Regions from separate parts of the Homo sapiens genome. Here regions 2, 3, 4, 5, 6 and 7 are each linked to region 1. The links are contacts of gene promoters, found by promoter capture Hi-C in blood cells and fetal thymus (Javierre and others, 2016). All regions are on one chromosome and are shown on one strand. The core of a region is centred on a gene start or on the middle of the fragment in contact, and the rest is flanking DNA. Distances in the headings are between cores, read along the strand shown. Region 1 holds the start of RTTN (rotatin). Region 2 overlaps TMX3 (thioredoxin related transmembrane protein 3). Region 3 has its middle 17 kb from the start of TMX3. Region 4 overlaps CCDC102B (coiled-coil domain containing 102B). Region 5 overlaps CCDC102B (coiled-coil domain containing 102B). Region 6 overlaps CCDC102B (coiled-coil domain containing 102B). Region 7 overlaps CCDC102B (coiled-coil domain containing 102B).

Region 1 (3,014 bases), core at 242-2,741:
CTGGATTCTTGCCTTTGCAAATACAGGTTTCTCCTGCAGGAATTTCCTTACCCAACTTCTTTGTGTGGCAAACTCCTACTTACTCTTTAAGATCCAACTCAAATATCATCACTCTCCTATTGACACACATGAGGAGGCAGCAAGGCACTCTAAATAGAACAAAGAAACATCAGGTCAGCTCCTCAATCTGTCACTTACTAGTTAATGTGACTTTGTGTGGGGGTACTTTTGTGATTCTAAGTTTCCTCTTTGGCAAAATAGGAATGGGAATACAGTAGGCCTTTGCTGTCCACTGGTTGCACACAGAGAATTCAACACACGGGATGGAAAATATTCGGGAAAAAACCCCACAGTTGAAAATAACAATACAACAATTAAAAAATAATATGAATAAAAGTACAGTGTAACAACTATTTACATAGCATTTACAGTGTATTAGGTATTGTAAGCAATCTAGAGATGATTTAAAGCATATAGGAGGATGTGTGTAGGTTATATGCAAATACTACACCATTTTATAAAAGAGACTTAAGCATGGGTGGATTTGGGTATCTGCGGGGGTCCTGGAACCAATTACCTAGGGATACCGAGGGCCCACTTTACCTGCCTTGACATCCCTTTCCCAGGGAACGTGAAATGATCAGACCGAGAAAATGCAAATCATTTTCCAAATGTAATTTTGTTGTTGTTCTTACCGCTGCTTATAATTAAAAAAAAAATAATTTGCTCAGCTCGATCACTGTGCACGGTGCAAAAAATCAACTTTGGTACCATTCAGCAAATCATACCCCCACGTCCCGCCTTTATTTTCCTTTTTTGCAGCCCGGTTTCTCTCTTCTGCTCACTCATACCCGCCCACCCCGCTTTTGTAGCTTGCTTGTTCATATCTGAACTTGGGTATCCAAAGACACTGCTTGACTTTGCAGGTACATTTCACAGTTAAAGAGGGTTCGTCATTTAGTAGTCGGGGATGGGGAGAACTGTCACAAAGCAAAAGTCTACATTCTAAATCGTGAAGTTCTGGGAGCTGAGAATCAGATTGGCAGGGCCAAGAACGAATCCGTCGACGAGCCGGGAGGCGGGGCTCCTGCTGGGGCCTCTGCAGCCCGCGCTGGGTTCCCGAATTCCCGCGCTGTAAGCCGGAACCCCAGGCCAGCGGGCGCCGCGGCGGGCCCGGAGATCGGTGCAGGACGCACGGCCTAGCCAGAACTACAACTCCCGACGTGCGCGGCGGCCAACGCTGGTTCTATCCCTGCTTGTTGCTTTTTTTTTTCCCTCCGCTTCTTGCGACGGAGACTGCTGTCCAGGAAGTGCGCAGTAGTGATTCTAGAGAGGCTGGAAGCTCTCCTGGCGACGCTGGGGCCGCGAAGGGCTCACGTAATGACTCCTACTCCTGGTGAGCGCAGGCGTTGCGGAACTCACCGTCCCACAGGACGTGTTTCCGGGGGTACATTAATTGTGGCTGGACGCAGTGGCGCGGCAGTTTAATTCTCCGGCGGCTGCAGATTGACGGGACGAGATGGTCCTGGCAGGGCTCATCAGGAAACTCGGTAACTGTCAGCTTGCCCCTCGCCCAAGGCACCCCCCGCGCTCTGGCCACTTGCTGAGAATGGTCGTGTCACGTTTCCGCGGCCGGCCGCTCCGCGACCGCTCCCTCTTTCACCCCCGCTTTGTCAGGATAGCCCCCGGGGACCCATCTCGGACTTTGTGTAAACTTCGCGGTTCGCGTCCCGAAGGCACCAGTGGCCTGCTTCTGAAAAAAACTGGTTTATTCCGTCTTCACGCCGCTCCTGCCCACAGCATAAATAACGTAGTCTCTTTGCAGTCGGGAAATAAAATAGTTTTGTGCCGTTCGTTGACAGGTCATCAGCTGGCCGAGATCAGGGAGCGCGCTCTCAAGAGTATTCTCTGCAAGATTGAGCACAACTTAATCTGCTACGCTGATCTCATTCAGGAGAGGCAACTTTTTCTTCATTTGCTGGAATGGTTCAATTTCCCGTCCGTTCCGATGAAGGAAGAGGTTCTGAACCTGTTAAGCAGATTGGTTAAGGTAGGGTCATTTTGAAATAAAGAAAATAATCAGACGAGTGACTTGTTTCTTAGTCATTTAATTGTAGCGTTTATTGAAAGTTAAATAATTGGGGTTAAAAGTTTTTTTAATCAACCAGAGATGTTTAATTTTAATTAATCTGGGTATATGGTTCATCTTTTATTTGTGATACTGAATCCCACATGGTCTCTGCTGTGCTCAGAAGTAACACAGAACTTCTTTTGAGTTTTGGTATGTTCTGTGTTTTTGAGTTATCTTTGGAGGTTAATATTTGTATTCTGTTTTTGTTTTCTGACATTTACATCTTAAAAACTAGATATGTCAGTATGAAAGGGAGCACTTTAAAAATAATGTTACATAACCGTGATTCATAAATACCAATGTTAAGTTGCTTGCCCATATGCTTTTAGATTGGTATTCTTATGCCTACCTCAAGAGTAGTTAGTTATCGGGGTCAGATATCAAAGTGTAAGTTTAACCTTTCAAAACTAAATCACTGTACAATGGTAGAGGAATCTTAAACTACTTTGACATCCTGTTGACCGGTTGGGGCTGGGACCATAAGGTGAGTGTCAGTGGAAAAAAGTAACCCATTAAAAAAATAAGAGTAGGGATTGATAATGTGCATTTCTAGCGTTCAGTGTGTTGGCTCATCTTTCATAAATGTTATCAAGTGTTGGATGTATGTCTCTATAGGTGTATGTGCTCCTCATGGAAGTGCCTTACTTCGGGGCAGAGCCATGAAGGATTTGTTTTTCAGAAAAGGAACATCTGATATACCAAAAATAATTTTATGTTTTGATTGCTGTAAGTTATAGAGATTTTGATACAGTTATTCTCAAGATCATCCTCTTCTTATTTTAGTATCCCCCAGCAGTCCAACATTTGGTTGACGTTGGTGCAGTAGAGTTCTTATCTAAGCTTCGGTCTAATGTGGAGCCAAATCTGCAGGCTGAAATTGATG
Region 2 (3,014 bases), core at 362-2,861, 1.5 Mb after region 1:
AATTTTTTTCAATACATATGTTATAAAATGTTTTTGAGATTTTTGATAATTTGAAAAGACTTAAAGATGAATTGCGTATCCTAGAAATATCAAACAAATTAAAAAGGTATGTCATGAATGCATAAAATACACGTAAATACTAGGTCTATTTGATCATTTTCTACCATAAAATATGCACAAATGTGTTAAATAGCTTCTATAATTATGGCTACTGAGATATAAATGAATATCAGAATACTTGCTATTGCTGTGTTTAATGTATATTTTGATTTGTTTTTATATTTTCAGTGAATTGACAGTCCCAACTGTAGTTGTACTGAATACTTCAAACCAGCAATATTTCTTGCTAGATAGACAGATTAAGAATGTTGAAGACATGGTCCAGTTTATTAATAACATTTTGGATGGCACAGTAGAAGTAAGTTGTTCACTTCTGTTTCAAAGAGATGATGGACAGGGGGTAGAGGAGAAACTAGTTCATTTCTTTACTTGTGATTCTGAAAAGAATAGTTGGCCATCACCCGGAGTAGAGGGCTGGACCTCCATACATTGCTTCTGTCCAATTATAGGCAGAGTAGAGGTACATTCTCCCAGATACAGAAGGTTCTTCTGTGGCAGAGGTTGCTAAAGATGGAAGTGTCCTTTTATGGGTTATTTGGAGGGTATTTTTGGTTGTCATGGTGATGGGGAGGGGCTGTTGGCTAAGGTTGAGGCTTAGGGATGCTAGGAAGTCTGCACTGTGTGGGGTAATCTTAATAGTGAACTTGCCTGTCTCTTAGTATGTTTCTAGGTCCAAAAGTACAATTGGATTAAGTCGTTAGGATTGGTTTTCTAAGAAAATCTGCAAATAAGATGACAATTTCTCAAGAAATGAGGAAATTTATTGAGAGTAAAAGCCCCCGTGGAGAGTTCTAGACTTAATCCTATAAAATATTTCTCAGAAATAAGTGAATAGTCTTAATTTTCTATTTTTTTCCTATAAATTTTAACTGCAGTGTTTTTCAAACTGTGAATTGCAACCTATATTAGAAAGTCATGAAACCACCGCAAGTCACAATCAGGTTGTGACCAGCATGCATCTTAATTCAATAGACTAGGATAAAATTTAAAAGAAAGCGCCTTCATTGCTTTTGTGAAATGTAATTACTAGTTTTTGAGAGTTGTTTCAGTTTTACACAAACTTTATTTAAAATTTGCTTACAGAGTAACAAACATAACTACTTTCGGTCAAGGTGAAGAAGTTTGAAAAACAGTCAAATAGTTAAGAATATTTTTGAAAATAATTTGTTGAAATGAAACTCTCACCTATATAAATAATCAGCCTTCTATTTTTAAGTTAGTGGAATGCAACTCAGACTATTTAACAACAGATTTTATTGTCTCATAGAGCTTGGAAATTTAAAAAATGAGCCAGATTGCAGGTATGGCCGAATATAGGATTTGAGTGATTTTCATCAGGAATTTTTCACTCTCTTCCCTTCAGCACTTTCATCCTCAGGGAAGCTCTCCCTGCACAGTAGCAAAGGTATCCTGCAGCAGCTCTGGTTTTGCGGTCCCAGCTAAACTCAAAAGCTGGTTAGGCTGTCCTCAGAGGTGGGTCAGCTTCAGCCAAGCTGTGTGGGTTATGAATAGAGGAGGAGGAATTGTTTAGAGTAGAATCAGGGTGAATTAACACAAGCAGGCAGGAGGAATGCTGGACATGACACAGACAAAAAACAACACAGTAAATGTTTACCACATGGCCTTTTCAGGTGATTATGTAATATTTTGGAGTCAACCATTTGGCCTGCAATTGTAAGGTTATGTAACACCAAGTAAATGAAGTAATGGTGCTTAAATAATTTATTTTTCTTTTCCTTTTTTGAAGGCCCAAGGAGGTGATAGCATTTTGCAGAGATTGAAAAGAATAGTATTTGATGCCAAATCTACTATTGTGGTAAGTTGTGACAGTTTATGTCATTGATAATGAAGAAGATATAGGTTCTTTATGTCTAGCTGTGTTAAAAATCTGAATTTGAAAAGATTAGGTCAAAATATGTCTTTTTAATTTGCAGGATATGACTAGTCAGTATTTAAGAAAATATATTCATTAGGTGGAAATTGTTTCTAATTGTTTATATGATTGATGAGTTAAAACTAAAATTCAGAATCAATTAACTTGATAGTATAATTTAAAAGATTTTATTTCTGCAACCTGCCATGTAAAGTTTTTACTTAGTAATTTCTATGATTTGTTGAAAGTGCAGATAATATGAAATTTTTAGTTCCATTACGTGCTGTCTTCTGTAAATTGGTCATTTTTGTTAAAGAAAATGATGTGTGCTGGGAAGTCACTTTTTATTTTGCAGGAGTCAAAATAAAATTTTAGATCTTACAATTTTAAACATCCCTGTTAATTCTGTACTTTTCCCTAGTTGGTAAATAATTAAGATCATTTACAGATGTTTTTCCTTCTTCCCTTTTTCTCTCCTTCCTTTTTTTTTTCTTTTATTCTTTTTATAGAACACTTTAAATGTGGAATTAAAATGTGATGGATCAAATCCTTTCTAACAGTGTTTACTTTCATTTGTTTGTCCCAGTGTTTATTCACAGTTGTTATATGTAAGTAGAATATCAACAGTGGTAGACGAATTGACATGTCTGCCCCTAATTACCCGTCTCTCTTGTTTTTATAATTATACTTTCTAAATATATTTCCTTGACTTTCTTCACTGTCACCTCTCACCTGATTATTTCTGCTATTCTAATTTCCTCTTCCTTTCACTCTATCAAACTAATGCTCACTCTGTCAAACTAATTAGATCTGTTGTATTTCCCCTGGATTTCTTTGAAGCATCCTTTCCTTGACATTCTCCTTTCCGTGCTGCTGTGAGTATCACTACTCCCCTGCTCCTGCCCCATCTCTTCAGTGTTTTTCAGCATCCCTTTCCTCCCTTTCCCCTTTGCAGTCCCTGGGTCTGAACCTTCTCGCTTGACACTCTTACGAAATTGTTCTCCCTCTCCCAGCTTTAACT
Region 3 (3,014 bases), core at 212-2,711, 1.5 Mb after region 1:
TTGGCTGTTAGTAAACAACAGTAGTTTTTAATTCTGAATCAGCAGTCTTATTCTCCACGACAAAGAGAGTGTGTGTGAAAGGCATCAGTCCTTGGTACTATTCTTTCAGACCCACCTCATTAAATCCCCTTCACTGCTTGGGGCTGATGTGGTTGGCTTTGGCTCCATTTCTGAGCTGTTTTAGTTCAGAAAGACTTGCGAATTTACATAAAGATCATTAACTGAGTCTACTTTTTCTCTGAGTCGCTCTAGCCTTAGCATAACCTTCCCCACCAACTTTTCTATCTTTCTTTTTCATATAGTTCTCCTTATACATTGGATGTCTTTATTTTGTCCCTAGGCTAAATCAGTCTATGGAAGTCCGCAGCCCAGGAATCTGGAAGGGAGCTCCACACTTGTGCGATGGATGTTTAGCCATGATGGTCCCTGGTCTGTAAAACTTGTAACTGGCATAGCAAGGATGACTCAAAATCATAGTTTTTTAATACATAGATCTGGGAACTATGGTATCCTAAAAATTTTAAGAGAAAACTGGAAAACCTTAACTCTAAATAGATGAATTCATGTTGTCTGCAGGCAGGTGAGGGTTACAAAAGAAAGATCACTATGAGACATTTCTGTAGAAAGCCTTCAAGTAGGCCGGGCGCTGTGGGTCATGCCTGTAATCCCAGTACTTTGGGAGGCTGAGGCAGGCAGATCGCCTGAGGTCAGGAGTTCAAGACCAGCCTGGCCAACATGGTGAAACCCCGTCTCTACTAAAAATAAAAAAAAATTAGCTGAGCATGATGGTGGGTGCCTGTAATCCCAGCTACTCGGGAGGCTGAGGCAGAGAATTGCTTGAACTTGGGAGGCGGAGGTTGCAATGAGCTGAGATCACGCCACTGCACTCCAGCCTGGGTGACAGAGCAACACTCCATCCCAAAAAAGAGAGAGAGAAAAAAAAAGAAGGCCTTCAAGAAATGCCAGATACACATTTCAAGGAATAAGACTTCAAGCTATGGTTATTATTAACCAAACAGTTTATGGTATCCACCATAGAAATACTAGAAATAATTTAAAATACACAGGGCGATAGAAGAAAAGCCCTGTGCTTCCATAAAAACTGGCCCACAGGAAAGAGATTGAAGATTCCCCCCTGAAGCAGTGTATTTTACTGAAATTAACTTCTCCATTTTCTGAACTTTAATGTTTGAGTAACTCAAAATATATCAACATGAATAAAGTTCCTCAGAGTAGAGTACTAAAGCCAAAGGACTGAGAAAGGACTTTTATGTGAGAAAAATAGTCAGTATTTAGCAGATGCTATAACTTAAATCTCAATAACTGTAAGCCATTCTCCTTTGATATGTGTTCAGTTTTATAAAAATAAATAAAGATTTATTTCCTCCAAAAAGAGCTTTGCTTGCACTAATTCGTACAATTTTCTGTACTTTTACTGAAGTAGAAATGGTGTTCAGAGATTTCAAAATCTCAAGACTATTGTCTGTCTGAAGAGTTTTGCTCCAAATGAATTTGACAACTGATATATAACTGAATGAGCATTATTGTATAGGAGATCATATAACATATATTATATTATATACACACATAGACAAAATTGTTTATATCATATATGTATACATACATATACAAAATTGTTTATATTATATTATATATGTATACATACATATATAAAATTGTTTATCCCTCTGGCCACTAAAATGACCTTGAGGCAATGGAACCTCAGATGGGACCAACCTAATATGCAAATGTAGAGTCCAGATTATAGTTCCTCAAAAATCAATTTTCCATGAAAAGAAGCCAGGGTATTTTGGAAGGATCACGGATTCCAAGTCGGGGGAAGGAAAGGATAAGGGAGTGTGCAAGTTTTCATATAAGCCAAAGTTTCATTCAAGGGTTAATGGAATCAGATCAAAAGGACACAGGAACTAGATTATAGGGGTTTGTGATCATCTCAGCATCGAAAATAGAAAAATACTTATGGTTAACTCAAATACATTAAATCTATGTGGTGGCTCACCTCTGTAATCCCAGCACTTTGGGAGGCCGAGGCGGGCAGATCATGAGGTCAGGAGTTCAAGACCAGCCTGGCCAACATGGTGAAACCCTGTCTCTACTAAAAATACAAAAATTAGCCGGGGTGGTGGCGCATGTCTGTAGTCCTAGCTACTTGGGAAGCTGAGACAGAAGAATCGCTTGATCCCGGGAGGCAGAAGTTGGAGCGAGCCAAGATCGCGCCATTGCACTCCAGCCTGGCAACAGAGTGAAACTCCGTCTCAAGAAAAATAAATAAATAAAATTTAAAAAATAAACATCTTAAATCCATAATGACCAGCCCAAATAAATATTAATTTAAATGTGCCAAAGAAGATCAAGATATCAGAATATTTCTGCTGAAATCTTATTACTCAGTCCTTTTGATACTGTTGATACCTTTCTTATATTGATACAGGATGCGGAATACAGTTCAGTATTAAATACATCATGTAGAAGACATTTTCTGACTCAAGGGATTGACTTCTTAAGTGTGACATTCAGTCAGATGAAGATATATGAGACATCCATAACCAATCTACTATTACTTTTTAAATCAGTAGGATTTGCCTACTTTAAGTATATGAACGAGTGTGAGATTACATTAATGTTTAACATTTTTAAAATTCAGGGAAAAGATGATAACAGATCATAAGTGTTCTAGTCAATTGCTTATCTTGAGTAAGCTGCATCTATCTATCAGCAGACAGAAGTATTACATGAGTGGGTCACACTGTTGAAATTATGAAAAAATGGCATAATAACTACAAATAAGGTCCAAAATATTTCTTCGGAGTCCTGGAAAAGTATCTAAGTGATCCTCTTGGACTAAGTCTATAAAAATGAATAACCTAATTAAATGTAATATTAATTGACTTTCATAATTGGGTTAGTACCTTTGAACCCTAGGGATACTTAGAAGTAAATATAGAATTTTTTAAGAGAAAGAAAACACGGCACTAAATTTTTTGTATTTTTAT
Region 4 (3,014 bases), core at 236-2,735, 1.4 Mb after region 1:
CTACGTAGTTGCTTTGACCCAACTCATTCCTACCATTGACAATACCTGTAAAGTGATTTCCAAACAAAGATAGAACAAAGCTCACCTGAACCCTCAGACAATCCCTGAGATTATTCTAGCTCCAAATTAGGAACAGGTTATAACCAGAACCTTCTAGAATTATATGAAACACCAATGGATTATGGCACTTCCACATCTTTCTCTTTTTTCCTGTGCTACCAAATGTTATAATCCCACTGAGCACCTTATAATTTTCATGTTTTATTGTGAAATACATTTTCTTCTCATCCAGAGAAGAAACGCTTGTTCAAAACCCTTCATGTCAAAAGAAGATAGAAAATTCATGAATATAGGCTGACTAATAAGACTATTTGATCTTTTGCAGAGGTCATAAATGTAATCTTTCACCTAATGCCTTCACAATCCTAAATTCACTAAGGGAGGAAAGGAAAGATTGTATGAAAGACTCTCAAAACTATTTCCAAATGAAAATGAGTCTAAAGTTGCTACAGGTTTTTCTTCATGCAACTATTGCCTCTTTACCTGTGTTATATTTCCAAACGTTTACTGCAGCTTAGAAACATATGCTCCCGAGTCAGTGACTAAAAATCTCACTTTTATTTTTGGAAACTTTAATTCTACAAATTTGAAACAGACACTATGATAAGATATATTTATAAATTCTTCAGTGAGCATATGTTTTTTTTCTCAATATTAAGGACACCTTTTTCTTTAGCTACTAAAAAAATCCTTCTATCAAAATTTTAACATCAAATATTTTAATATATTTATGACACACAACAGCAATTCTTTTAGGAAATATCATTAAATATAAATCAACTTGGATAATATTTAAGTATATAATAATGTTAACAGTCCTTTGCAAAGCTATGACTACAATTAAATGGCCTTGAGCACAACCTCCAATACAATATCTAGTTTTCCATTTTACAATCAAGGTCTCAAGCTCACAATCTCCATTGAGCATCTACAATTAGTCAGGGCACTGAGGATGGAGCACTAGTTATACAAAATGTCTTCTATAGAATATATTCTTAGAATGCAACCTAAACCTGTACAAAAATAAAATCTCAAGGTCAGTGACCAAATCTTTGCATTTCAACTATCCTCATCTGTTTTCGTGTACGGCAAAAAGATACTCCTTCAGTAAAGCCTACTTAATGATAGTATGATTCTAAACTAGTAGGCAGTATGTTCATAAAATGATAGCATAGTTACCATCATGTATACATTGAACAAAAAAACCTCGTTGTTATGAAATAAGCTATAATTTTTATTTCATTGAAAAAAAAGAAGAAGAAAATGAATGTTATCCCAGATACTAGTTCTACTTTGAGAAGAAGTAATGTCTTTAAGGTTTGGATATATGAAGGAAAACATGTTAATAAATAAGTTCTATTCTTTTTTACTGTGAATGTACTGTATTTCACACTATCTATTACAATGTGAATTTTATTTATGCTTTTCACCTATTGAAATGAAACTTATACAATGCCTTTATTTGATAATAACTTGGTCATTCCATAGTTTTAAGAGTATTTGGTCGCTGAGTGTTCGTTGATACCATGTATCAAAAAGAAACAGAGGAAAGTCAGTACATCCCCAGTGTTATTCCTGGCCACCTCACACATCTCATTTGTGAATAGGTAATATTCAGTGCAAATCAGTGATGACATTTTCTTTGAGAATGCAAAAGATACCTTCTCTAAGTAGATTTAAGAAAATGTAAGAGAGAGAAAAGCATAAGTGTTGAATCTGAGGGCCGCTAATTTAAATGTAAAAATTACCCCTTATTTGCAGCGTCAGTCTCTTCTCTCAATTCCCAAAGGAAAAGTGTGGCCCAACTGATAGAACAGTAATTCGTCTGGATTTATAGAATATCGGAATGGATCTTTGGGCTGTTGTCTCACGACCTCCTCCCTGCACCCTAAAATCCCAGTGTCCACTTCAAACCATTCTGCTCGACTTCTGCCAGATTCACATTCCTAGAATACCAGCACAACATCGTGGAAATAGCTCTGGAGCCAGAAAGACATTATTTGAAATTCTGGTTCCCTCACTTTCTTTATCTGTGGCTTTAAGCAAATCATTGAACGTTTCTGAACAGCAGGTTCCTTCAAGTGCAAAATGAAAATAATGTGTAAAATAATGTTCATTTTCTTGCAAAGCTATCAAAATTGTGGATATGTATGTAAATCACCTTGCAAGCAGAAAATGCTATTATGTGTTGGCAAAATGATGATGATGATGATTATGGTAAAGATGATGAAAAGAGGCACAGATACTCCACCTCTTTTCAGAAACTTGCAATTGTCCCCTTTGTATGATATGTAAAGGCCACATTTTTCTGTGTGCAATGTTAAGATGCTCTATCAATTTTTCCTGTTCTATGTATTGAGTACAACGTCTGATACTCACAAAGGTATATTTTTTCTGCTCCAATCAGATAAATTACTCACCATTCTTTTATGCTCTATGCTAATTTGTGTTCAAAACCCTTTTTGCCAATTACTTCTTCAAAGTAGAGTATTCCTCTTGCTTTCAGCACCTATCCAAGTTCCACTAGTTTTTCAAGACTAAGTTCAAGAAGTTGAACTTTTCTTTAAAGCCTCTGGCATCTCTTTAGGACTCACATACCTGCTAAAAAGGGAATTTCTGAATATTTTGGCATTATGGCAGAATTCAATTGGTCTTGTAATATCAGCATAAGAGATATGACGACCTGAGAGCATTTCTTGTATTTTAAGAATTACAGCCATTGTTTTGTAACTGTAATAATTAGATGAAACATTCATAAATTACCTTGAAGCCAAACCCATAGTGAGGCCCAGAAACAATGTCCCAGTGATCAAGCAATTATTGAATCCAATGATAACATATGAAGGATGCAAAAGAGAGACAATGAAATTATCTATGATTTCATAAGAACATAGGATATTTTGGAAAATAAAGCAATTCACATAAAGCATTTTTCTGAATATATTCAAATAGGT
Region 5 (3,014 bases), core at 149-2,648, 1.4 Mb after region 1:
GAGAGAAAGATAAAAGAGAAAGAAAAAGAGACAGAGAATTTTCCTGAGTATTTCACATATATTAACCTATTTCCTTCTTACCAGAAACATAGAGGTACATATATATTTATCTCTCTATGCCTTTCCAGTTTTTATTTATGGAGTGCATGTGTGACTGTGTGATGACAGTGTGTATATGAAAGATAGACAAAGAAATTTTTCAGATCAGCAAAGATCTATTTTAATCATTGTTATTATTACACATTTTTTTAAAATTATAATTTCACAGAGACTTTGGCTTAACAGAAAACATTTCCAAAGACTTATAATATCATGTCAGTCTGGCTATTCTGTACTATTCAAATAACAACTTGTGCACATTTCAATATTTTTATTTTTCTGTCTATATTTTATCCAATGAAATGTATTTTAGGAATGTAATTGAAAATCACAGTTTTTAGCTGAAACCATTCCCCTTGAGAACTGGAACAAGACGAGGATGCCCACTCTCACCACTCCTGTTCAACATAGTACTCGAAATCCTGGCCAGAGCAATCAGGCAAGAGAAAGAAATAAAAGTCATCCAAACTGAAAAAGAAGTCAAACTATCTCTCTTCGCTAACAATATGATTCTATACTTAGAAAACCCTAAAGACTTTGCCAAAAGGCTCGGAATAGAAAACTCAGAAATACAACCACACACCTACAACCATCCGATCTGTGAAAAAGCCAACAAAAACAAGCAATGGGAAAAGGCCTCCTCGTGCAATACATGTTACTGGGATAACTGGCTAGCCATATGCAGAGAATGAAACTGGACCCTTGCTTTTTACTATACATAAACACTAACTCAAGATGGATTAAAGGTTTAAATGTAAGACCTCAAACTATAAAATTCCGAAAAGAAAACCTAGGAAATACCCTTCTTGACATCAGCCTTGGCAAATAATTTTCGGCTGAGTCTCCCAAAGCAATTGCAAAAGAAAAACCCTAAAAATGACAAGTGGGACCTAATTAAATTAAAGAGCTTTTGCACAGCAAAAGAACCTATCAACAGAGTAAATAGCCGGCAAAATGGGAAAAAATTATTCACAAACTACGCATCCAGCAAAGGTCTGATATCTAGAATGCTTAAGGAACTTAAATCAACAAGCAGAAAACAAATGACCCCATTAAAAAGTGGGCGAAGGACATGAACATACATTTCACAAAGAAGACACACAATAAGTCAACAAACATGTGAAAAGATGCTCATTATCACTAACCATCAGGGAAATACAAATCGAAACCACAATGAGATACCATCTCACACAAGTTAGAATGGCCATTATTAAAAAGTCCAAAAACGACAGATGCTGGTGAGGCTGCAGAGTTAAATGAATGCTTATACACTATTGCTGGGGGTGTAAATTAGTTCAGCCACCATGGAAAGCAATTCGGAGATTTGTTAAAGAACTTAAAACAGGGCTACCATTCAACACAGCAATCAATCCCATTACTGGGTATATACCCAAAGGAAAATAGATCATGAAGCCAAAAAGACACGTGCACTCATAGGCTCATCACTGCTTTTCACAATAGCAAAGACATGGAATCAACCTAGGTATCCATCAGTGGTGGATTGGATAAAGAAATGTGGTACATAAGTTACCTGATGGAAAGTCTTGACGGCAAGTTGTCCAGGTTCTTGGAATTCGGAATTCTAAGACGCACAAACAAAACAACAAAAGAACAAAGCAATGAAAGCACAGATTTACTGAAGCAAACATACACTCTACAGACAGGGAGCAGACTCGAGCAAGCGGCTCAAGAGCCCCGATTGCAATGCTCTTTGAAGTTTTTACTAAGCTAAAAGAATTTGGTAACACCTATATGTACCCTTTAGAGGCCTCCAATTGGTTACAACCTATGCGAATGAAGCATTGGCCCATGACTCATCAGAGGCTGAAGTGGAGGCTTGGCCCACAACCAATCAGAGGCTGAAATGGAGCCTGGTCCTGCAACCAATCAAAGGCTGAAATGAAGGCTTGGCCCCAGACCAATCAGAGGTACTTCCCATTTGTGCTACAGGGGAGTGTGGGGGCGGGAGGGGTTTGTAGAGGCAGGTGACTCTGGTTTCTTGTCACTTAGGCATAGAGAGGTGAGGTTTTCTTTTTGGTTCAATTCCAAGAAGTCAGCCTCAGGTTGGCCTTAGGCTCCAGACCCTATTCTCCTGCCTCACATATATATCATGAAATACTACACAGCCATAGAAAGAATGAAATATTGTCCTTTGCAACAACATGGATGGAGCCGGAGGCCATAATCCTAAGCTAATGAATGCAAGAACAGAAAACCAAATACCGCATGTTCTCACTTTAAAGTGGGAGCTAAACATTGAGTATGCATGGACATAAAAATGGAAACAATAGACATTGTGGAATACTGGGAGGAGGGGAGTTGAAAAACTACCTATTAGGTACTATACTCTCCTACCTGGGTGCAACATACCCATGTAACAAACCTGCACAGGTACCTTATGTATCTAAAAATAGGCGTTGTAAAAAACAAAAATAATAATAGTATTAAATAATCACAGTTTTTAAATGCCCAATTTCAAATTAAAACACCAAATTGACATGTTAAACATTTATTTGTTTCTACAAAATTTCAGGTGTTTTTTTTTTCTTTTTTTGAAATGGAGTCTCGCTATGTTGCCCAGGCTGGAGTGCAGTGGTGCAATCTCAGCTCACTGCAACCTACGCCTCCCAGGTTCAAGTGATTCTCCTGCTTCAGCATCCTGAGTACCTGGGACTACAGGCGTGCCCCACTGTGACCAGCTAATTTTTGTATTTTTAGTAGAGACAGGGTTTCACTATGTTAGCCAGGCTGATCTCAAACTCCTGACCTCGTGATCCACCTGCCTTGGGTTTCCAAAGTGCTAGGATTAAAGGAGTGAGCCACCATGCCCAGCCAATATTTCAGCTTTAAACAATGAAAAAACTCAATTCTCAGAAAACTACAGTAGTTTTCATAATTTTTAGAAAGTATTCCAA
Region 6 (3,014 bases), core at 172-2,671, 1.4 Mb after region 1:
TCTCATGCCACAAAACTGGTCCCATGAAGACCCCACTGCCTGTAACCTCCTCTGTCTGTTGCCTCTACACTCTCCTGGTAATATGTGTCTGGCAAGCAAACGTATTCAAATTAGCAAATTTGAGCGGAAATTGACATTATAGCTCAAAATATTTCTGGGGAATACATGCAGCCAGGAACACTGATGAGAAAGCCATCAAAATCTTCCTGTAAGCACACTATTTCGGCCACCATTAAGGTAGAGACATCACAGCGGGACCTCAAGATCACCAATACGGGACAGTGAGTGGTGTCACTAAGCACCAGAGGCCACCGCTGCCTCTGGAAACAAGTTGTCTTTATTGCTGCTGCTTCTCGCTTAGGTATGGATTCTAGATGCTGTCTATTGCCTTGCGGTATTGGCTTGGCTTAAAAGTCTAGGTGGCCACCTCTGATGCACTATTCCTAAGTCAAGTGTCTGTACCCTCATTGCAAAGGAAACCCTGGTAGAGACTTACTGGCATTTTTATAATCTATGCACAGGTGTAGACTCTGTTTCATTTGGCAGTGAATTGCCAAAACACAAAATAGACACTGGAGAGTCAAAAAATGGTAAAGGTTTATTGAATATTCCATGAGTGACAGTTAATAAAGTAACAAAATAAGCTTGATTTTCAAATATTTACAAATATTACATTAAATAGTATTAACCAGATTTGCATGTCAATGTATTCATTGAGGAATATATATATATATACTTTATATATATAATTTCTTAAATATGTAAAGTAGAAATCTGTGTCTTTCATACATATATAAAAAATAATATCCTTTGTAGCATTTTTAATTTGCTGAAGCTTCTAACCTGGATTTTAAATCTCATTAAGAAAAAAATTGAACATTTAATGAAGCATGCTACTTTTCTTACATAGAAAATAAATTAAGAAGACAAAATGGGCTGGGCGCAGTGGCTCACGCCTGTAATCCTAGCACTTTGGGAAGCCAAGGCGGTTAGATCACTTGAGGCCAGGAGTTTGAGACCAGCCTGGGCAATATGGCAAAACCCCGTCTCTACTAAAAATAAAAAAATAAAAAATTAGCCAGGCGTGGTGGCACAGCCTGTAATTCCAGCTACTTGGGAGGCTGAGGTGGGAGGATGGCTTGAGCCCAGGAGGCTGAGATTGCAGTGAGCTTACATTGCACCACTGCACTTCAGCCTGGGCAACAGAGCGAGACTGTCTCAAAAAGTAAAGAAAAGAAAAAAAAGATAAAATGATAAAATGGAAAGGGAGGACTGAAGCTCAGCTTAAAGGACACAGAACAAACATTTTACAAGTGATAAAGGAGGTCTCTGCAGTGAAATTTGAAAACTGATTCTGAAGTTTGGGACAGTTCAAATTATTTTATCTCAGTCTCTGTTACTTGAGATTTGGTATTGCCAAACCTCAGCTTCCCAAATGTTTAGGTACACATAGGCCTATAAGAGGATCAGCTTTCCTGGCCTTACTCCAAATTTTCTACCTGGGAAGTCTTTATGAAAGTCAACAGAAATATATAAATTCTCAGTATATGAGAAACTTTTATACACTGGATAATTATTCATAAAACTGAACAGTACTCAGAGTGCAAAGAAAACTATAAAGTTTCATCTATTTGATGAGGAGGTTCTAGTCAAGGACAATGGAAAAAAATGAGTCCCTGAGTTTTCTGAGTTGATTTCTGTGCACTAGTCAAGAAGAGAATTTTCCCACTAGATGGGAATGCAGAAAAAAATACATTCACATCTCAGTCGAAGCCACCCACTCACTGATATTCCAGGAAGAAGAATTTAAAAGATTAGATGGATTTATAAGTAATAGCATATCCTATATTCTTGGAAAATGTTCTCTTGTGATAGAAAAAAAGACTGATTGCCTCATGCGGATTGCATGCAAATGTTGATTCATGGACACAGGAACCATGACTCATCACGTCCGTGGGATTGTTTCTTAAAAGAGGAGAGTAGGAAGACAAAGCCATGGAAAGCTTCCTTTTTTCTCTTATTCTTTGGCCTGTCTATGGATTATAGACTGAAGTCACTGAGAACTGCAGAATGTACTTACTCTGAGAATTGTTCATTTATTCCAAGAAAGTAAAAAGTATATGTTGTGTATATGTATATGGATAAGCGTGTTAAGACAGAACATGCATATCTTTAAAACTGACACCTTAGAATAGAAGTTTACATCTAGAAAAACACAGCTCTGCATTGCTCCTATTAGACTGCACTGGGGAAGTAATATTGTATGTGGGCTGGAGAGAAGTCTATAATTACCAAAAAGTTAAATGCTTCAAGAAGTAAAACCACGGAGATTAGAATGTGACTGAAATGTATAGGGCTAGATAAAATTGTCACTATGTGTACGAGCCTAAAAATTAAATTCATTTTTATTCTGTTTTCTACTAATGTTGGTTGCCTCTATTAGGAATTTACACTTGGTAGAGTAATAAATATTTATTCTGTACATAGATACTTGTATGATCACAATCTACTAATCTAGTGAAATACAGATGAAGAATCTGAAAAAGGGAATTGGTGGCACTAGTAAATTTCAGAGGGACTAATGAGAAACTTCTGGCAGAAAGTAAGTGGTAAAGAACTTACTGTATTTGTGAATGGCTAGCATGCATATTTATCCCTATTTCAGTCCATTCAAGCCAGGAAAATTAAAACTGTTATATAATATATACTTATATAATACATTGTGTGTATATATGCATACATATCCTTCTTGCTTTTCTGGTTCTGCCTATTAAGATTTTTATAACTAAGAGATAAAAAATAATTATTTTTAGATTTTGGAACCTTATTTATATATTAGATATTCCACATTGTGCTAATAAAATTGTAAGCTGATTGCATAGAAACGAAAATCCATATTGAACATTTCATATTACTATTCTCTTTCCCAGATGTTATTTGTTCTTGATCTTTATGAGAATTCACTGAGAAAGGCTATGACAGACTGTATTTTGCAAAGATCGTTGCCACAATGA
Region 7 (3,014 bases), core at 312-2,811, 1.3 Mb after region 1:
AACCAGCAATTGGGAAAGGATTTCCTATTTAATAAATAGTGCTGGGAAAACTGGCTAGCCATATGCAGAAAACTGAAACTGGACCCTTTCCTTACACCTTACACAAGAATTAGCTCAAGATGGATTAAAGACTTAAACATAAAACCTAAAACCATAAAAAAAAATAGAAGAAAACCTGGGCAATACCATTCAGGACATAGGCATGGGAAAAGACTTCATGAATAAAACCCCAAAAGCAATTGCAATGAAAACCAAAATTGACAAATGGGATCTAATTAAACTAAAGAGCTTCTGAACAGCAAAAGAAACTATCATCAGAGTGAACAGGCAACCTACAGAATGAGAGAAAATTTTTGCAATCTATCCATCTGACAAACTTCTAATATCCAGAATCTATAACGAACTTAAACAGATTTACAAAAAGGATAATCTTTTATCCAGTCTTGGAGCTTCCACTCAAGTTCTTTGTTTCCTTTTACCATCAAGTGCCTTGAAAGAGCTGTTGCACTTACCCTTCTCACTCGCTTCTGCTACCAGCATTCCTCAGACTTTCCACCACACAATATTCAGTTCTGCCCTTACTTGACTCCTTGGCAGAATTATACACAGTTGACAATGCCCTTGTTCAAAGACTCTCTTCCTTGGGCTTATGCAAAGAATGGTTTTCCTGCTTCCCTCCTGCTTGGATTTCTGTGCAGTTTTCCCTTTTCTCTGTCTTGCTTGGTGTCAATCCTCAATGCCCCAACCCAGAGTCATCCCATCTACTGTCATGGCTTAAGCCATCATCTCTCTGCTCATTGTTCAACTTTCCTTTCTACATTCATAAATCCAAAATCCTACCAAACACTTCCAAATCAACCTCAACATATTCAGAACCAAATTCACTGTCTTTTTCCCTTACATTTTTCTTCTCGTTTCTGTGTTCTCTTGGTGAATGGCCACCTGGCTGATAAGGTCAGAAATCTTTAACTTCTCCTTCTCTGTCACCTCCCCTGTGTCTTCAGGCATTTGCAACATCCGTTTAATCATCAATCATTGTCACTTCCTTCACCTGAATATTTCTCAGCTATCCACATACCTCCTCCATCATCAAGCTCAGGACACGTGGAATATTTCTACCTAGATTACTATAACAGGCTCATAACAGTTTCCTCATCATGCTCACCCCCCAAATCTCTTCTTCACACTGAGTTTGAGTCATTTTTTGAAATTGTGATCATATTGACCTTGGTCAATAAATTTTATTAGCTCTCCCCATTGCCTTCATGTTGATACACACATTTTTAATGTGGTTCTTGGGATAAGTATTGAATATCAATTAGCATAAGGGTATATGAGCAAGTATTTTACAGTTAGTCAGGTTTGGTAGCAATATATTCTTATGAAAGGTGAGGAACGTAAGAAGGAAATGTGTCCAAAGAGTAGACTCAAATGCAGTGGGCCCAGAAATATGTGACAGCAAGGTTAAGATTCCAAATAATATGTATTATTTATCAATGCACAGAGAAGTCTTCAAATGGGCAGATAAGCCACAGAGAAGCATTTTACGCCTTGGATCATTGCTTCAAAAAATTTAGCCAAAATCCCTTAAAGTAGATTTTACTTAATTCCCTCCCTTAACCTTAGAGAATGGTAGAAAATACAGTGAATTATGTTTAGCTTTAACAAACAAAAAATGTATTGTATTCTTCAAGTCAAAATAAGGATGTCAAATGACTTATCTCAGTGGTCTTTTGTTCTCTTGCTGATGTATATTTTTAATTTTTAAAGTTTTTGTTAAAATTGTTGATTTATTTAAACTCAAAAATAAAATTTTTAGTGAATTTTAAATATTTACTTTTTATAAAATGAGTATTTTAACTCAGTTTTAGAAAAAAATGGTATATGGACTTGGAAGCATGAAATTAAGAAGTTTTTTTTTCTGGAAATGCAATAAGAGGAAATATCATTGAGAAATAATATGCTCAATGATAATTGTCTGGATTTTCCTCTTGTGTCAGAAGCTATATATTTTCTCCCCAAAACAGCAGCTCCAACTAACTAGCCCTTTTTTTTTGTTTTGTTTTGAGACGGAGTCTTACTCTTTCGCCCCAGGATGGAGTGCAGTGGCATGACCTCGGCTCACTGCAAGCTCCGCCTCCCGGGTTCATGTCATTCTCCTGCCTCAGCCTGTCGAGTAGCTGGGACTACAGGCGCCCGCCACCACTCCTGACTAATTTTTTGTATTTTTAGTAGAGACGGGGTTTCACCGTGTTAGCCAGGATGGTGTCGATCTCCTGACCTTGTGATCCGCCCGCCTCGGCCTCCCAAAGTGCTGGGATTACAGGCGTGAGCCACTGCGCCCGGCCAGCTAGCCCTCTTTATCTCCCTCTAGCTGGGATAGATTAATTCCCTTCCACACCTCCTCTCTCTTCTTTCAATAATGCTGTGTAGGTGTTAAAGGCATGGGTTCTGGCCAATGAACAGAATTGTCCTTTAGGCCAGCAACCCACAGGCAGTGGCACCAAAAGTCTCACCCCCAGCCCCCAGGATGCAGGCCACAGAGCTGGCAGTTTCCACTGTCTCAGGGAGAAGGAGCCAAAAGCTGACCCACAGCACAAATCAGAGCCCAATATGGAGAGAGAATAAGTGCTTCTATTCCCAGAGTAGGCAAGCTGTGGGCAGGAAAAGGGAAGATTTTGCAGCCACTCCATATTTAGAAACAAGGGGAAGGCCGGGCGCGGTGGCTCACGCCTGTAATCCCAGCACTTCGGGAGGCCGAGACGGGCGGATCACGAGGTCAGGCAATCGAGACCATCTGGGCCCTTTTCCACTACTATGATCTACTGCTACTGAGCTCCAGGGGATCTGAAAGCCCAAAAGGATCTAAATAAATCAGGAGAACTTTGTCCAGACTGGAGACAAGAGTGACAAATGGGAGGATAGGTGACCTTAATAGTGTGTGGAAAGATGACGCTGGGAACGTCAGCTCTTCACATGGCTGCCAGCCCTACAGACCACAACACAGTAAGAAC

What was found. Contacts are between HindIII fragments. The CHiCAGO score rates a contact against its expected background, and 5 or more counts as called.
Region 2: a fragment that was not itself captured here is called in contact with the fragment with the promoter of RTTN in region 1 in 10 of 17 cell types (total CD4 T cells, naive B cells, non-activated CD4 T cells and 7 more); the score reaches 14.2 in total CD4 T cells.
Region 3: a fragment that was not itself captured here is called in contact with the fragment with the promoter of RTTN in region 1 in 10 of 17 cell types (total CD8 T cells, monocytes, total B cells and 7 more); the score reaches 18.5 in total CD8 T cells.
Region 4: a contact is called between a fragment that was not itself captured here and the fragment with the promoter of RTTN in region 1, in 1 of 17 cell types (M1 macrophages). The highest score is 6.5, in M1 macrophages.
Region 5: a fragment that was not itself captured here is called in contact with the fragment with the promoter of RTTN in region 1 in 1 of 17 cell types (M0 macrophages); the score reaches 8.8 in M0 macrophages.
Region 6: a contact is called between a fragment that was not itself captured here and the fragment with the promoter of RTTN in region 1, in 6 of 17 cell types (monocytes, M0 macrophages, M1 macrophages and 3 more). The highest score is 19.1, in monocytes.
Region 7: a contact is called between a fragment that was not itself captured here and the fragment with the promoter of RTTN in region 1, in 3 of 17 cell types (monocytes, M0 macrophages and M2 macrophages). The highest score is 6.2, in monocytes.

What each region holds. Positions count from the first base shown.
Region 1 is chr18:70,204,164-70,207,177 of GRCh38, reverse strand. It overlaps RTTN (rotatin), which reads left to right and starts at 1,491. Exons shown (of 49, transcript NM_173630.4): 1 at 1,491-1,550; 2 at 1,863-2,050; 3 at 2,915-3,014. The coding sequence starts at 1,520. LOC105372180 (a long non-coding RNA gene) reads right to left here and starts at 1,389. Exons shown (of 3, transcript XR_935599.3): 1 at 604-1,389; 2 at 84-149. RefSeq lists enhancers at 1,092-1,331, 794-1,423, 1,342-1,451, 1,662-1,791. The HindIII fragment of the contact is 5,232 bases long and covers 1-2,973 here.
Region 2 is chr18:68,678,385-68,681,398 of GRCh38, reverse strand. It overlaps TMX3 (thioredoxin related transmembrane protein 3), which reads left to right. Exons shown (of 16, transcript NM_019022.5): 14 at 289-418; 15 at 1,868-1,936. Among named protein-coding and RNA genes, the nearest start is that of TMX3, 35 kb to the left of the region's middle. The HindIII fragment of the contact is 9,223 bases long and covers 1-3,014 here.
Region 3 is chr18:68,730,270-68,733,283 of GRCh38, reverse strand. It overlaps a transcript of CCDC102B not described here. Among named protein-coding and RNA genes, the nearest start is that of TMX3, 17 kb to the right of the region's middle. The HindIII fragment of the contact is 4,512 bases long and covers 1-3,014 here.
Region 4 is chr18:68,799,262-68,802,275 of GRCh38, reverse strand. All of the region lies in intron 1 of CCDC102B (coiled-coil domain containing 102B), which reads right to left. Among named protein-coding and RNA genes, the nearest start is that of CCDC102B, 2.7 kb to the right of the region's middle. The HindIII fragment of the contact is 5,766 bases long and covers 1-3,014 here.
Region 5 is chr18:68,822,033-68,825,046 of GRCh38, reverse strand. All of the region lies in intron 1 of CCDC102B (coiled-coil domain containing 102B), which reads right to left. Among named protein-coding and RNA genes, the nearest start is that of CCDC102B, 25 kb to the right of the region's middle. The HindIII fragment of the contact is 3,269 bases long and covers 1-3,014 here.
Region 6 is chr18:68,839,959-68,842,972 of GRCh38, reverse strand. All of the region lies in intron 3 of CCDC102B (coiled-coil domain containing 102B), which reads right to left. Among named protein-coding and RNA genes, the nearest start is that of CCDC102B, 43 kb to the right of the region's middle. The HindIII fragment of the contact is 1,168 bases long and covers 838-2,005 here.
Region 7 is chr18:68,866,987-68,870,000 of GRCh38, reverse strand. All of the region lies in intron 4 of CCDC102B (coiled-coil domain containing 102B), which reads right to left. It also overlaps the pseudogene SDHCP1. Among named protein-coding and RNA genes, the nearest start is that of CCDC102B, 70 kb to the right of the region's middle. The HindIII fragment of the contact is 6,831 bases long and covers 1-3,014 here.